Regions from separate parts of the Homo sapiens genome. Here regions 2 and 3 are each linked to region 1. Evidence: promoter capture Hi-C in 16 types of primary human blood cells and fetal thymus (Javierre and others, 2016). All regions are on one chromosome and are shown on one strand. The core of a region is centred on a gene start or on the middle of the fragment in contact, and the rest is flanking DNA. Distances in the headings are between cores, read along the strand shown. Region 1 holds the start of IL10RA (interleukin 10 receptor subunit alpha). Region 2 overlaps DSCAML1 (DS cell adhesion molecule like 1). Region 3 overlaps FXYD6-FXYD2 (FXYD6-FXYD2 readthrough).

Region 1 (4,746 bases), core at 347-2,846:
ATCCCCACCCTGGCTTGGCCCAGGCTCCAGCTCAAAGCCACCTCACTAAGTACACAGACAGCCTGCTTGCTGACATCTGCCTCCTTCTCTTCATAGGTCTCCTGGGCTCCCCAAGCTAAGTGCTTGCCTCATTCCCTAGTTTCTGGGAGGGCTTTGCCTATAGCCAGATGTCCAACCTCTGGCTGGGCAAGGACAGATGGAATAAATCAGCTCTGGCTCTACACATGGCTGAGGACATCCCCACAAGAGCTGGCACCTGTAGCTCCGAGGAGAGATACTCAATACCAATTCCTAGCTCTACTCTCCCTTTACCCCCAGTACACACCATTCACCATGGGAAACACTGCTGAAGGCATTGTCTTCTTTGTAAGAATGCAACAAACATTTCTACTTTAAGAGTCTTGTTGATCAAGCAGACTGAAGTATGTGCAAGGCCAACGGCTGGTTGGTTCCCTTTCTCTCCTCCTTGATCCTCTAAGTTCTCTCCATTTGACAGCGACTCTGCTCCCGCTCCCTAGTGTTCTAACTTCTCTACATCTCTCTAATCATGCACCTGTTTTTTATTTATTTTTTGGGGGGGAGGACTCTGTCATCTGTCTCTTGCTTTCTTTCTTATACCGTCTTTGATCTTCACGTCAGTGCCTTGATTTCGAAACATTAGACGGAAAGTGAAAAATGCAGCGAGTCGTTGTGGTATTTGGGCTGCACATCTCCGACTCAGCTCTCGATCACGTGAATGGCTGACTGCATGTTTTACTTTGTATTTTGGTGTCATGAAGAAGCAGTTTCGGTCCTTGCTCTCTGTCTCTGCTCTTGGTCCTTCCAACTCCCGGCTCTTTCATTCTGTCTCTGGGGTTTACTTTTCTTAGTTGCAGAAACCTTGCCGGAGAACTGTCTGGGTTAGGAGCCTGAACTGGGTTAGAAGCCTGAACTGGCTGGGTTAGGAGGAGAGAGGCAGGGGGCAGTGGGAGTGAGTTGGGGGCTACAGGTGGAGCAAGGGGGATCAGATCGGGGTGATCAGTGAGGGATGAAGGTGAGATGGGAGAAGGACAGACAGAGGTTAGTTGAAGAGTCGACTAAGAGAAGGGAGAGTCAGGAGATCAAAATTATTCCCCAAGGGGACAAGAAGTCCCATCATTTGAACCTAAACAGCAAAAAACCTAGAGCTAAACTTACGGCTCATCTAGAAGTGGGTGGATGATGAGGTTTGCGGGTTGGGGGTTTGGCCTTGCGCATACTTCTCTATCCTTCCCAATCCGTCAGTTCCTGTCAATTTCAGCCTCTTCCACTTCCACAACAGGTGAGCCTGAGATCCAGGTTTGCCAGAGTAAGGGAGCACCCGGGCACCGCTCTGCCAGAGGGCCAGCCAGCCAGGGCTCTCCACTGGATGGAGAACTTTAATGGAGCGGGCGCGGAGAGGGCAGGGCAGGGAAGGGCCGCGTCCCGGAGCCTTACCATGAGCGTCTGAGCCAAGACGGAGGCTGAGGAGCGCCGCCAGCAGCACTACGAGGCACGGCAGCATCCTGGGCGCGCCGCATCGTCCGGGGCCGGAGCGGAGCCGGCCTGCGCGCCTCCAGCTACCCTTGGGCTGGGACTGACAGCTCCGCCGCCCGCTCCGCCAGCGCCCCGCAGGGCTGACGTCAGCGGGGCGAGGCCTACAGACGCCCCGCCCCCGAGGCCGCGGACGGGGAACCACTGTCCCACAGGGCTACCGCCTGGGGCAACCCGAGGCTGTCCTGGGGCGCTAGCGGGCTCCGGCCACCCCTCCCTTTCCTTCCCTCTGGGCCTCCAGTGCCTTCGGATCAAAGTGGTCCGGGTAGCCCGGCCGGCCGTGGGTACGTGTGTGTGGGTGTGTGCGCGCGCGCGTGTGTGCATGTGCTGGGAAGCAGGTGGCCAGGCACAGCCTCGGCCCTGAGTGCGGAAGGTGGGGTGAGGGCGTCCGAGCCGCTTTTGCCTGGCGTGCCGGCTTGGCGTTAAGGATGTGGCCGCGGCCGCTCCGAATGGGGAGGAGGTAGTTGCAGGCCCTTGAGGGCAAAGGCGCCAGGACGCCGGTGTGAGTCTTGGCGTTGCCCCAGGGCCTCCCCGTCTGGGGGTCTGAGGACACCGATGGATGAATACTGAGTAGTCCCCTACCTAATTGTTGGAGGGGGGTCCACAACTAAGCAGTTTATGCAGACCTGCCCCCAAAGTCCCAGGAAGCTGAGAGACCCAAGAAAGAGGCTTTTAACCAGCAGCTCAGCAGCTGAGCCTCAAACCGCGATTTTTAAAATTTTTTTATCTATTTTTTTTTTTTACAGTCTCGCTCTGTCGCCCAAGCTGGAATGCAGTGGCGTGATCTCGGATCACTGCAACCTTCGTCTCCCAGGTTCAAGCGATTCTCCTGCCTCAGCCTTCCGAGTAGCTGGCATTACAGGCATGTGCCACCACGCCTGGGCTAATTTTTGTATTTTTAGTAGAGACGGGGTTTCACCATGTTGGCCAGGCTGGTCTCGAACTCCTGACCTCAGGTGATCCACCCGCCTCAGCCTCCCAAAGTGCTGGGATTACAGGGGTGAGCCACCGCGCCCAGCCTTAAACCGTGTTTTAAACTTAGTTTCTCTTCTTTCCTTTTTTCTCTTCCTCCTCTGGGCCTCAAGATATAATTTTGAGACAAACTGCATGTATGTTACCTCTCATCTTAAAACACAGCCTCAGGACGTGCTGTGACCTCCACTCCCTTTCCTGTCCCATACTGTACTCCCATGCCTTACGCACGTTTATTTACCTACGTGCTTGTTAAGCACACGCTATGCTCTTACCTGGTCATATATTTCCTTAGATGCCTCAGGAGCTGCGTCCTGATAGGGACCAGGCACCTCCGGAATTCTCTCTCCAACAAAAGCTTACTTCAGGAGTTGAACATATACCCTGCTGAAGAGTAACTAATTTATAACCTGGCAGGATCCACGATTGCACCAGCCCCTCCACCAAATAAGACGATAATTAAAGAGGACCACTGGAGCAAGTCACACCACCTGGTACCTCCTAACCTCCCCCTTGCCTTTTCTGCATTTCAGATCCTTTCTTAAAAAACCCCTGCGTTCCCCCCATGAATTGAAGAGTGGAATTGTTTGCTGCTCTTCCCCTGCTAGCATGGCAGCTAGCAGATTTTCCTTTATTATCCATTCTTTCTACAAGCAGAGAGCAGCCAGATCCTTTTGCAGGTTACAGGCTGACACATCCAGTTTCTTCGAAAAAAACATTTAATAAGGACTTATAAACAGAAGCTACGTTTGTGTCTCCATGATTCACCCCCAGGACCAGGGCTTATAGACCACAGGGGAAGGGTGATTCAGAAAAGATGTGTAGGACAGTTGAAGTATGATAACATCAAGGTTGTTTGACCTAAGGGCCGGATTTACAGTAAGTGTTTGCACTTACACAAGGAGCAATTGATAAATTGGGAATCTCAGAGGTCTTCTGGGAGGCTCCAAAGCCAACACGGCCAAAACTGTGGATTAGCATCCAACATGGAGTTGCTTTAGCCTCCATAAGGACTTCTCCCAGTCTCTTCTGGGTTTCCCTTGCTTGCTTGAAATCTGATATTCAGACCAATTTTTGTGTTGGGTAATAGCACTACTGGAGTGCTGGGTAACACCTCAGCACATCCTCAGTCTCTCGCACCTCTGTGTCACTTGGCTCATCTGAGGCCATCTCCAGGTGAACCAAATATGTGAGGATATGAGAGACAGACTGTCCATCACTTTTTCTTGGAGGCTGACACCTGCTTCAAAGTGTGTGTGTGTGTGTGTGTGTGTGTGTGTGTGTGTGTGTGCACTTGCAGTCATATATGATTTGCAGTGGCCAGTCTGTGGATTTGGATTTCATTGTGGTGTGGAGAACGTTGTCTGTTTGCCAAGTGCATATGTGTGTTTGGGACTGTGTGTGCATCCCTCAAGCCCTGCCCTTGTTCTCAGACAAACCAAAGAAGAGGGGCTCAGGACATTTCTGGCCAGCAAGGCCCCACTCCAGGCCTGCTGCCCCACCCACCCGGCCATACCCCGCCCTGCCTGTATTGTAGTTTGTACCTTCATTTGTTCCTGAGCTCTTGTCCTGTGTTCAAGAAGAATGAGAATTCGCTGACAGTTGAAGGGTGAGGATGGGCAGAGAATAATTTTATTGAGTGATGGACCAGCTCTCAGCAGAGAGGGGATGGGGAGGGGGGTGGTTCCCCGCTCCCACAGTTGGGTGTTTTTTTTTCTCAGTGTGGCTGGATCCAGGGCTTTTTCTGGACTCAGAATAGGGAGTGCATGCCGATTGGTTTGTGAGTATGCAAAAAAGGTTAAAGTGAAAATACCACTCAAAGGTGGGTACGACAGTGTAGAAAACCAATTAGGAAAGGGTAGGTGTATGTAAAGTAGGTGAAGGGTGGGGATCAATCAGAGGAAAGCGTGCCAAATGGGAAGACAGGTTCTCAATCTGGTCTGAAGATTTAACTTGCAGCTTGGCTTTCAGGTTTTAAGTTGTCTTCAACTTGGAGGTGGGGTTTCACCAGGGACCCGCCCTATCTGCCTAGGCATTTGACTGCCTCCTGTAACTATCACCTGCTCCTGGGAGGTTTCCCTGGCAGTGCCCAATGCCCACATGGAGGGCCTTATTTACTGCAGCTTTTGAGAAAGGGCCCCTAACTTAGGTGTGTGACACCAGCACTGTGCGTGGTCTAGGAGTTAGTGAGGCATTATCCCCATGGTTTGTGGAGATATAAAC
Region 2 (4,746 bases), core at 1,318-3,817, 200 kb after region 1:
GGACAGGCACTACAGTCACTGAGGGAAGGGCGTGTCAAGAGCCTGGAGTGATGCTTGAGGAGTGAGCACTTCAGGAGAGCTGAGTGGCCCCTCCCAGCGAGCCAGCTGGGATGCTGCAGTGGGAGTGTGGCCTCGGGAATGGTTTTGTCTGCATTTCCAGGGCCCTGAGAGGATACTACTATGGCAGGTGCAGCTCCAAAGCCTTCCCAGATTATTTTTCTGCATATCCACTGATCCAGAAGGGGCCTGGCCCACCAGAGCCCACAGAGGTTTCCAAGAGATGTGGTATGGAGGCCTAAGGGGTGAGGTGGAGCCTCAGGGGATGGACAGAGGTAGAGAGGGGGAGGGCCAGAGGGCAGAGCTTCAACCAGAGCTTTTATTCATTATCCAATTTCATATATTGGAGTAGAATGAAAAATAAGAAAGGTTGCAACCCACTGGTGTGGTAGAAATTTGGAGTCAAGGCAAATCTTTCATTCACATCCTGGCTCTGCACTTACTGGCCATGTGACTTTGGGCCTCTCTGAGCCCCACTTTCTCCAGCTATGAAATGAGATTAAAGAAGATAATGCATATCAAGTAGCCAGAACATAGTTAGTGCTCAATAAACATTAGACCTCTACTTTTTCCTCTGCATTGCCTCTACCTTCCTCTCCCTGCCCCCTCTCCAGAATGCATCATCAGATCCTTCCCTAAGCAGTTGAATTAATCAGCCACATTTTTGGCCAAGCCAGTTGGCTTAGACTTTATAACAATAAGAAAGACAGAGTAGTGGCCAGGACAGGGGACGTCAACTCCTTCCATCCGTCACCTAGCTGGATAGCATGTAGGACTCCACATGGCTGAGGCCATGTGGTCACCTGAGTGTCCCTGGGGTGCCCAGCACACTTCCTTCCCCTGGCCATCAGTGGAAATGAAGAGGGCTGAAGTTGGCTCCAGACTTGGATTTGAGGTGAGGCAAAGGTTGGTCTCATATCTGCCAAAGGAAGGCTGGGGTTGGTTGTTAAATCTCTACCACGGTTGGCCAGAGTAAGAACTATTCTGGAGTTCATGCCATAAAGCCTGCGTAAGCACTCCTCACAAAGCGAGGGAGCCCTCATAACTGTTGCTGGATGTATTTCTGTGTCTCTCCCTGCTGAGATGAACCTCTATTTTTCAGGCAGTTTTGCATATAGAGAACACTCTTGGCAGCCTGTGACCTTGGGACTGCTCTTCCTTCCATGACCTAGTCTGTCACAGGGAAGCAGCATGTAACCCAGAGGTCAAGTGCTGCCTATGGCAGGCCATGGCCTGTGGGATCCTACATGTTGGGGAGGCTGTGGGCTCCACAGCCTGTGTGCCTTGTTAAACAGATGTTTGTCCTGTGCTGCTTTAGAGTGAACAGCATTAGCCTTGGGGACCACCCATGCCACTCCAGCTGCTACTCCCCTCATTCGTTCAGCTGCCCTGCCCCACTCCCTGTGCCCTGTCTCTACATGATGCTTGCACTAACAGTTTCCAAGGTCACCATCTTCATTAACAACAATTATTCAAATGCTAGTTAGTTGCATATCCATTAAACTGATTCTAAAGAGATGCATGTGTGTTTGCACGTGCATGTGTGTATGTGTGTCTGTGTGTTGGAAAGAACATTATCCATGGACCTAAAAAACAAAGCTCAGCCTGTCTTACCTGGGCAAGTTGCCTAATGGTTCATGTGCCTTTATTTCGTAATCTGTAAAATGGGCAAAATTACCCCCGTCCTGGCTATCCTACAGAGCAGTTGTTACTGTATATGTGCATAAATAAGAATAAGAGGCATAAAAATGTACATCATGTGACAGTGCTTTGTATACAGAATGAGGCAACATATGAACACACACATGTAAAAACCACAGCAAACCCGTTTTAGCCTTATAAATGCTCTGCTGAAATGTGAGGCATAATTACTGTCATTTCATCATACAGGAACGATGAAGGTCTCACAGCTGTTTGTGGCTGTCTCCCCCTCCGTGGGCCCCAACATATGGAGAATTTTCCTAGCTTTGCTTTTCAGCATCATGGGGAACAGCTGATGAGGCACAGCCAGGCTGGCAATAGTCTTCCTGGAGCAAACTTGGCAGATCCCTTGAGGCCCCAGTGGTAGTGGGAGTGGGAGGAAGCCTACCTCTTCTCCCTCCTCCCATTCCCCTCCAAGGTTCTTAGATGCAAGTGTAGTCCATAGTCCTCTGGACCAACTCCCCCAAAGGGACATTCTCCCTGCAGGGAATCCACAGTCTTTTGTGGGAAGAGCAGTAGGCACAGTCCCATCTTATGTGACCTCATTTAAGGTCACAGTATTCACTGGAATCTCTGAAAACTCTGCCGAGTCGAGACTGGTGGACACCCTGCTACTAGGGTGACCCTCCCGCAGTCGTGGGGTATGAGAGAGGATAGGACCCCTGCGTTGGGGGTGGGAGAGGGAGATTCAGGTGATCACCTTGGGTAAAAGTCTTGCAGGGTTGGAAGGCATCTTTAAGGCTGTGGAATCTGTCCCCTAATCAGAGGCTGACTCCCTCTGCAGCTTTCCCACCCAGTGTCTTTTTCTGTCTTCACTAGCACTTCCTGCAACAGGGACTCCTTCCTTGCAAGGCAGCCCATTCCTGGCCACACAGCTCTGACTATTACAGAGCTCATCCTTAGAATGAGTCAAACCCTGTTGTGGTCTTGGACCTTCTACTCACTGGTCCTGATGTCACCGCTTGGACCACATAGAGCAAGGCAAAGCCCTCTTCCACTTGACAGCCCTGCGACTGTGATAGGCAGATGTCCTGCCCATCTGAGGCCCCTGCTCTGGACACGCAGCATCCCTAGTTGCTCTGATACACCCTCGAATGACATCGTTTCGGTGCTTCATGGTGCTCCTGAGTTCCACAATGGCTAGTTTTCTGACAGCAGGGTGGCCAGAACTGAGAGAACACTGGAGACAGCACTGTAGCCCCAGCTGGGATGCTGGTGAGCTGTGTCCCTGGGGTAGATGACTCCACCTCTCTAGGCCTTGTGAATGGAGGAGATTGGAAAAAATAATCTCTTAAGTCCCTCAAGCATTAACAATCTAAATCTAGGATTCTCTGGGGACAACTGTGCTGTCTGAGCTGACTCCCTGGAAAGAAATTTTGGCCATAAGGGACCTTCCTTTGACAGGCCCTGTCTAGAAAGGGCTGGAAGATTAAAGAGTCTGTCCGACAGTCAGCTGTTGCTCATAACTTCTCCTGGAGCTGATGGCACAGGGCCTTGGAGGTTGAAGGATAGCTGCGTCTCCACTGGACCTCGCAGGTTTCTGGTTGCTGGTCACAGAAACCATGTTTGTGCTAAGAATCTTAAAAACAAACAGCAAAACCACCCATGTTTCTGATGGACACAGGGAGGACACTTGAGCTGTGCTTTGCATGGGGATTGGAAATGGGGAGCGTTTTTTGGTCATCTCAATGACTAGGGTGGGGAGCTGCTGGCGTTTAGTTGGGGGAGGGATGGAATGTCTAATGACAGGGAGATTCCCAGGTAATTCTGAATTATCATACCCCAATTGATCTCTTTTGTCAGAAAATCCCCCCACAGTGTGCTCACACCATGGGGATGGTCTGAATCTAGCCTGTCATGTGCCTGCTGAGCCACACATCCTGGCATAAAGATGTGAAATGCAGCTCTGCCACTGCGAACTGTGCAACACCAAGAAATTATTTGACCTAAGAGCCTGTCTTCTTATCTGTAAAATGGAGTCTTGAGTAGTAGCTACATCCAAGGGCTGTTGTAAGAATTACATGTGCAATAATGCAAGAAAAAGGCTTCCCACCATGCCTGGCACAAAACAAATGCTACAAAGAAATGATGGGGCTGGGCATGGTGGCTCATGCCTGTAATCCCAGCAGTTTGGGAGGCCGAGGCAGGCGGATCACTTGAGGTCAGGAGTTCGAGACCAGCTTGGCCAACATGGCGAAACCCCATCTCTACTAAAAATACAAAAATTAGCCAGGCGTGGTGGTGCACGCCTGTAATCCCAGCTACTCAGGAGACTGAGGCAGGAGAATCGCTCAAACCTGGGAGGTGGAGGTTGCAGTGAGCCAAGATGGTGCCACTGCACTCCAGCCTGGGTGACAGAGCCAGACTCCGTCTCAAAACAACAACAACAACAACAAAAACAAAAACAAAACAACAACAACAAAACAAACCAAAAAAACCAAAAGATGGCACTGTGATGGGGAAGGTAGTGGTGGAGCAGGTGTGCCAGATTGGGTGGACATCACAGGCAGAGAGCATGGGACTTGGCCCGCTGCTTCCTCTTGTCCAAGGACCATACCAGCTCAGGCTGCCTGGTACATGCTCTGATGCTGTCTGGGAAACTCAACCCTCTCCTTGCCAGTGTCTGGGCTCAGACAGTTTCCAAGATGCAACATAAAGGGTTTTTAGTGAAGCAGCAAGACACCGTCTGGCTGGTCCTCCTCTGGGTTTTGAATGGACTTGGTGGGTGAGCCGGTGGGAGGATCACCCTACTGGTTGATCCTCTCTAGAACCAATTTTTCCAACTCTGGGATGAGAACAATCAGAGTGAGGGCACATAACACATCTCCCATGAAAACCTTTGTGTGGAAATACAGTGAAGTAATCAACCTTGCAAATCAATCCAAGAAACCTCTCCAGCTCACATCTGCATGAAGAACTCTGCGTAAGGCCTGGGAATTAGCAAAAGCTGTGTGGCTACTGCAATGCTCTGTTGCTATTGATTCTACC
Region 3 (4,746 bases), core at 986-3,485, 140 kb after region 1:
CTCCAGCCTGAGTGACACAGTGAGACTCTATCTCAAACAAAACAAAACAAAACAAAAACTAGCACTGGAGTATGTGAAGCTTAGCCAGAACTTAAGCCATAGTTACTCTTAGAATGCACCCTCATTGACATTACTGCATTCTGTAGGCTAATCAGCATTGAGTCCAGCAAGGTTGGGAAGCCAAACCTGAGACTACCTGCATGAAGCCAAGAACCCTTGAGAGGGGCTAAAGTGATCTCAGGTTGGTATCTGCTGCCCCCAGCCTCCATGAAAAAGCAAAGCAAATGCTCTCTGAAAGAAAGTGTCCCATTTTAGGACTACCAATTTCCCACAGATTAAAATCTAGCAAATATGAGCTCACAATCGAATATATTACCAAACACAGGAAAAAACAAGTCACTGTGATTGAAAGGCACAGAAACAAAAAGTAGATTTTGACCCCCAAGGATTTAAGAGTTTGGAATTATCAGATACAGAATATAAAATAACTGTAAGAAATGTTGAAAGAATAAGAGATGAGAACACAAAATGAGTGAACAACAAAGACTAACACAAATGCCCAGGCAATTTCAAAAAGAACCAGATAGAACCTTTAGAAATTAATAATATGACCATTGAAACACAAAAGTAAATGAGTGGGTTAAGCAGCAAATAAAAACAGTTAAAAAGGAAGTCAGAAAATGGAAAACAAATATGAAATAATTACCTGGAATGTAGCATAGAGAAGGAAGTGGAAAATATGAAAGAGCAGTTAAGCGATATGGAGAATAGAATGAGGATGTCTAACCTGCTTCTAGTCACAGTCTCAGAAAGAGAAAGTGGGGAGAATGGAGGAGAGGCCATATTTGAAGAGATAAGAATTTTTCATAACGATGAAAAGGATGAACCTATAGGTAAAGGACTTTCAAGTCTGATGAAACTCACGACAATCAGTTCTATGTTGTGTTTCAGACTTGTGATGAAACCCACAACAGCAAACACAAAAAGAAGAAAATAAAAGGAGGCAGAGAAGAAAGATAGGACATCTATAAAGGAATGATGATATAAGCAGCAGACTTCTCAACAGCAATCATGGAAGCCAGATAGCAGTGGAATAACATCTTAAAAGTGCAGAGCAAAAATAATTATCAGCCTAGAATTGTGTACATAGCCAAACTACCTTTCAAGGTTAGGATTGTATTAGTTTTCTATTGCTGCATAACAAACGATCACAGACCCAGCAGCTTAAAGCAACACATGTTTATTATGTAATGGTTTCTTTAGGTCAGAGGTCTGGCACAGCTTAGCTGAATTTTCTGCTTCAGCATCATACCGAACTACAGTCTAGGTGCTGGCTAAGGTTGTGGTCTGATAAGAGAATTGACTGGGGAAAGATCTGCCTCCAGACTCCCTCAGGTTGCTGGCAGTATTCATCTCCTTGTGGTAGAAGAACTGAGGTTCCCATCTTCTTGCTGGCTTCTGGCCAGGGGCAGCTGTCAGCTGCTAGAGGCTTCCCACAATTCCTTATCCTGTGCTTCTCTCCGTAGCCTGTCTCATGACATAGCAGCTTGCTTTTTCAAGCCAGCAAGGGAGAAAATTCTCGAGCTCCAGCCTGCAAGATTGAGTCTTATATGATATAACACCATCATCTGAGAGCTGTCCTTTTGCCACTTTTGCCACATTCTGTTGGTTAAAAGTGTGTTGCAGCTCCTGCCAGTATTCAAAGGAAAGAGATTACTCAAAGCATTGAACACTAGAAGGCTGGAATGACTGGGGATCGCCGTAGGGTCTCTTGCCATAAAGGTGAAATGAAAACATTTCCAAATAAACAGAAACAGAGTTTCTAACGAACAGATCTTCATTAAAGAAAATTTTGAAAGATGTTCTTTAGGAATAAAGAAAATGGCATGAAGGATGACTAACGTTCAAAAACAATGGTGAACAAATCAGTACATATGTTGTAAATTCATTATCTATTGCTGCATAGCAAATTACTTCCAAACTCAGCAGCCTAAAACAGCAAACGTTTGATATTTCACACAGTTTCTGAGGGTATGGAATCAGGGAGAATCTTCAGTGGGTGGTTCTGGCTCAAGGTCTTTCATGAAGCCGGAAGATCTGTTTCCAAGCTCACTTATGTGGTTCATGGCAGGCTGTATTTCTTAGCAGGCTTTTGGAGTGAGGCCACCACATGGGCCTCTCCACAGGGGTGCCTGAATATCCTTAAGACATGGCAGCTAGCTTGACTCAGAACAAGCAATCCGAGAGGGAGGGAGAGAGAGAGAGAGCACACAAGAGGCTGTGTTGCTTTTTATAACCTCATATCGAAAGTGACATACCATTACTTCTGCCATATTTTCCTGGTCATACAGACCAACCCTGGTGCAGTGTGGGAGGGGACTGTACAAGGATCTGAATACTAGGAGATACTGGGAGCTGTCTTGCAGGCTGGCTACTACACACATGGGTGAATCCAAACAAACATAGTTTTCATGAAGTACGAATATTAGTATCTATTTTATAGAATTTTAAAAAGAACTGAAATATTCTCCAATAATAGCATATGTATCAGGAAGGGGATGATTTGTATTTTTGTATTTTCAAGGAGGGTATTCTGCCTAATAACTATTATAAGTATTAACTCTGAATTTTTTTGGTCTTTTTTACATTGAATACACATGGAAAAATTACAAAGATGACCACTAAAAGATTAAAATAGTTTCTATAATTTCTAAACCAGTAGAGGGAGAAAAGGAATAAGAAAAAAAAAAATCACTAAGCTAGGGGCAGTGGCTCATGCCTATAATCCCAGCACTTTGGGAGGCCAAGGCAGGCAGATCACCTGAGCCCAGGAGTTCGAGACCAGCCTACGTAACATAGTGAGACCGCCCCCCAAAAAAATAAAAATAAAAATAACTAATCCAGAAAAAAGAAAGGGCAAGGAAAGAAAAAGAAACAAGCACATTCCCATAGGGAAAAAACAGATGGCAGAAAGCAGACCAACTACATCAATAGTCACAATAAGTAAATTAAATGGGGTAAATTTGACAATTAATACAGAAAGCCTGACAATACAGAATTTTTCAAAAATCCATCTCTTTGCTGTTTATAAGATGCACACACAACACATAAGGACACAGAAAGGTAGAGAGTAACATAGAATTTAAGACAGGGAGGATCACTACATAATTCTAAAAGACCCAACTCAGAGGACAGTAACAGTTTTAAACTATCTGTTAGAATATTCTAAGAGACATGTTATCGGCCAGCTTCAGGTCTGTTCTGCCCACACTCAGTAAATCTCAGTAAATCAATCACTGTGACACAGATTTTGCAAAAGAGAAAAGATTTATTCAGAAGACCACCAAGCAAGGAGGCCGGAGAACGGCTCTCAAATCCGCCTCCCCAAAGATAAGGCTTAGGGATATTTACTGTTAAGGGAAGTGGGGTGGTCTGAGGCATAGGGAAAGGTGATTGGCAGTGGGGAGAAATGAAATGGCAGATTCATTCTGAGCAAGCGTAGTCAGGGTTTGTGGCATTCCACAGGACATATGTACAGGAAATGGTGGCATTAGTGTGACCTGAGGGTGGAGTTTTTAGCCCTCTGATGTCAAAGGCTACCCTTCGGAGCACTTGCACATGCCCAGTTGAAGGGTGGGTGGTCTCATCCTGTTTGAACTGGACAGGAGCTAGCCCAAATTCCTGAAAAACAACTGAAGTAACCATTACCAGGGTGACCTATGAATGTTATCTGTAAAGTAACCAGTGAAGGTTAAGTTTCAGCATGCAGTGGCGAGGCCTTCAGCTACCGAGGCCTTCAGCTACCACGGCCTTCAGCTTCATGGAAAAAGGAAAAAAAATAAAATATAATAACAAAAAGCAAGCGACCAAAAGCAAGCAGTGCAGGCAGACCTGATCAGATTAACCCCTCTGTTTCAAATATGGGGATACATTTATAAATCCTTCCACTTAGTGGTAGATTTTAAAGTGCTGATCTTGATTTTTGGTAGGATAAACAGTCAAAAAAAAAAAAAGAAATTTAAACACAGTTGATAATGTTAATTTATAGGCATATAGAACTTTCTTCCCAACCATGAAGGAATTCACAATTTTCCAAGCACATATGAAATATAATTCTTTTAATAACTGACCATGTACTAGGTCATAAAGCAAGTCTCAACACGTTTCAAGGCATCTGTACATCATACAGACCATGTTTTGTGACCTTGGTGCACTTAAGTTAGAAGTCAATAACAAAAGCAAATAAAAATCACTATATATTTGGATATTTAAAACACACACTTCTTAATGCATAGGTAAAGCAAGAAATTGTAAGGAGGTTTAAAGTATACTGAGAACTAAACAACAATCCAACTATGATGGAGTACTTTCACCCCCTTACAGAAGCTTTGAAGTGTGGTTATTGATTATTGTTTAGTTCTTAGTATTATACTTTAAAAGCACTTAGAGGGAACATTGCAGTCTTAAATGCTTATATTGGAAAATAAGAAAAGCTAAATATTAATGAACTAGGTATCCAACATAACAAGATAAACATAAAAAAGAACAATAGAAGAAACCCAGAGATTGTTTAAGGGCAGAATTAAGAAAATTTTAAAACATACAATAAAAAGGATTAATGAAACCAAGAGTTGGTTTCTTCAAAAAAACTATAAGCATCGTTAAACCTCTGGTGAAACTGACCAAGAAGAAAGGGAGTTGTCACAAGTAACATTAGGAATGAAAAAAACAGGCATAACTTTATGG

What was found. Contacts are between HindIII fragments. The CHiCAGO score rates a contact against its expected background, and 5 or more counts as called.
Region 2: a contact is called between a fragment that was not itself captured here and the fragment with the promoter of IL10RA in region 1, in 1 of 17 cell types (endothelial precursors). The highest score is 5.0, in endothelial precursors.
Region 3: a fragment that was not itself captured here is called in contact with the fragment with the promoter of IL10RA in region 1 in 7 of 17 cell types (non-activated CD4 T cells, naive CD8 T cells, naive CD4 T cells and 4 more); the score reaches 8.5 in non-activated CD4 T cells.

The regions. Positions count from the first base shown.
Region 1 is chr11:117,983,244-117,987,989 of GRCh38, reverse strand. It overlaps IL10RA (interleukin 10 receptor subunit alpha), which reads right to left and starts at 1,596. Exons shown (of 7, transcript NM_001558.4): 1 at 1,456-1,596. The coding sequence starts at 1,522. RefSeq lists enhancers at 419-718, 2,109-2,168 and silencers at 1,519-1,798, 1,819-1,918. The HindIII fragment of the contact is 8,039 bases long and covers 1-2,883 here.
Region 2 is chr11:117,787,731-117,792,476 of GRCh38, reverse strand. The region is part of intron 1 of DSCAML1 (DS cell adhesion molecule like 1); the gene reads left to right. Among named protein-coding and RNA genes, the nearest start is that of DSCAML1, 7.1 kb to the left of the region's middle. The HindIII fragment of the contact is 8,640 bases long and covers 1-4,746 here.
Region 3 is chr11:117,848,804-117,853,549 of GRCh38, reverse strand. The region is part of intron 1 of FXYD6-FXYD2 (FXYD6-FXYD2 readthrough); the gene reads left to right. The region is part of intron 1 of FXYD6 (FXYD domain containing ion transport regulator 6); the gene reads left to right. Among named protein-coding and RNA genes, the nearest start is that of FXYD6-AS1, 17 kb to the right of the region's middle. The HindIII fragment of the contact is 4,307 bases long and covers 82-4,388 here.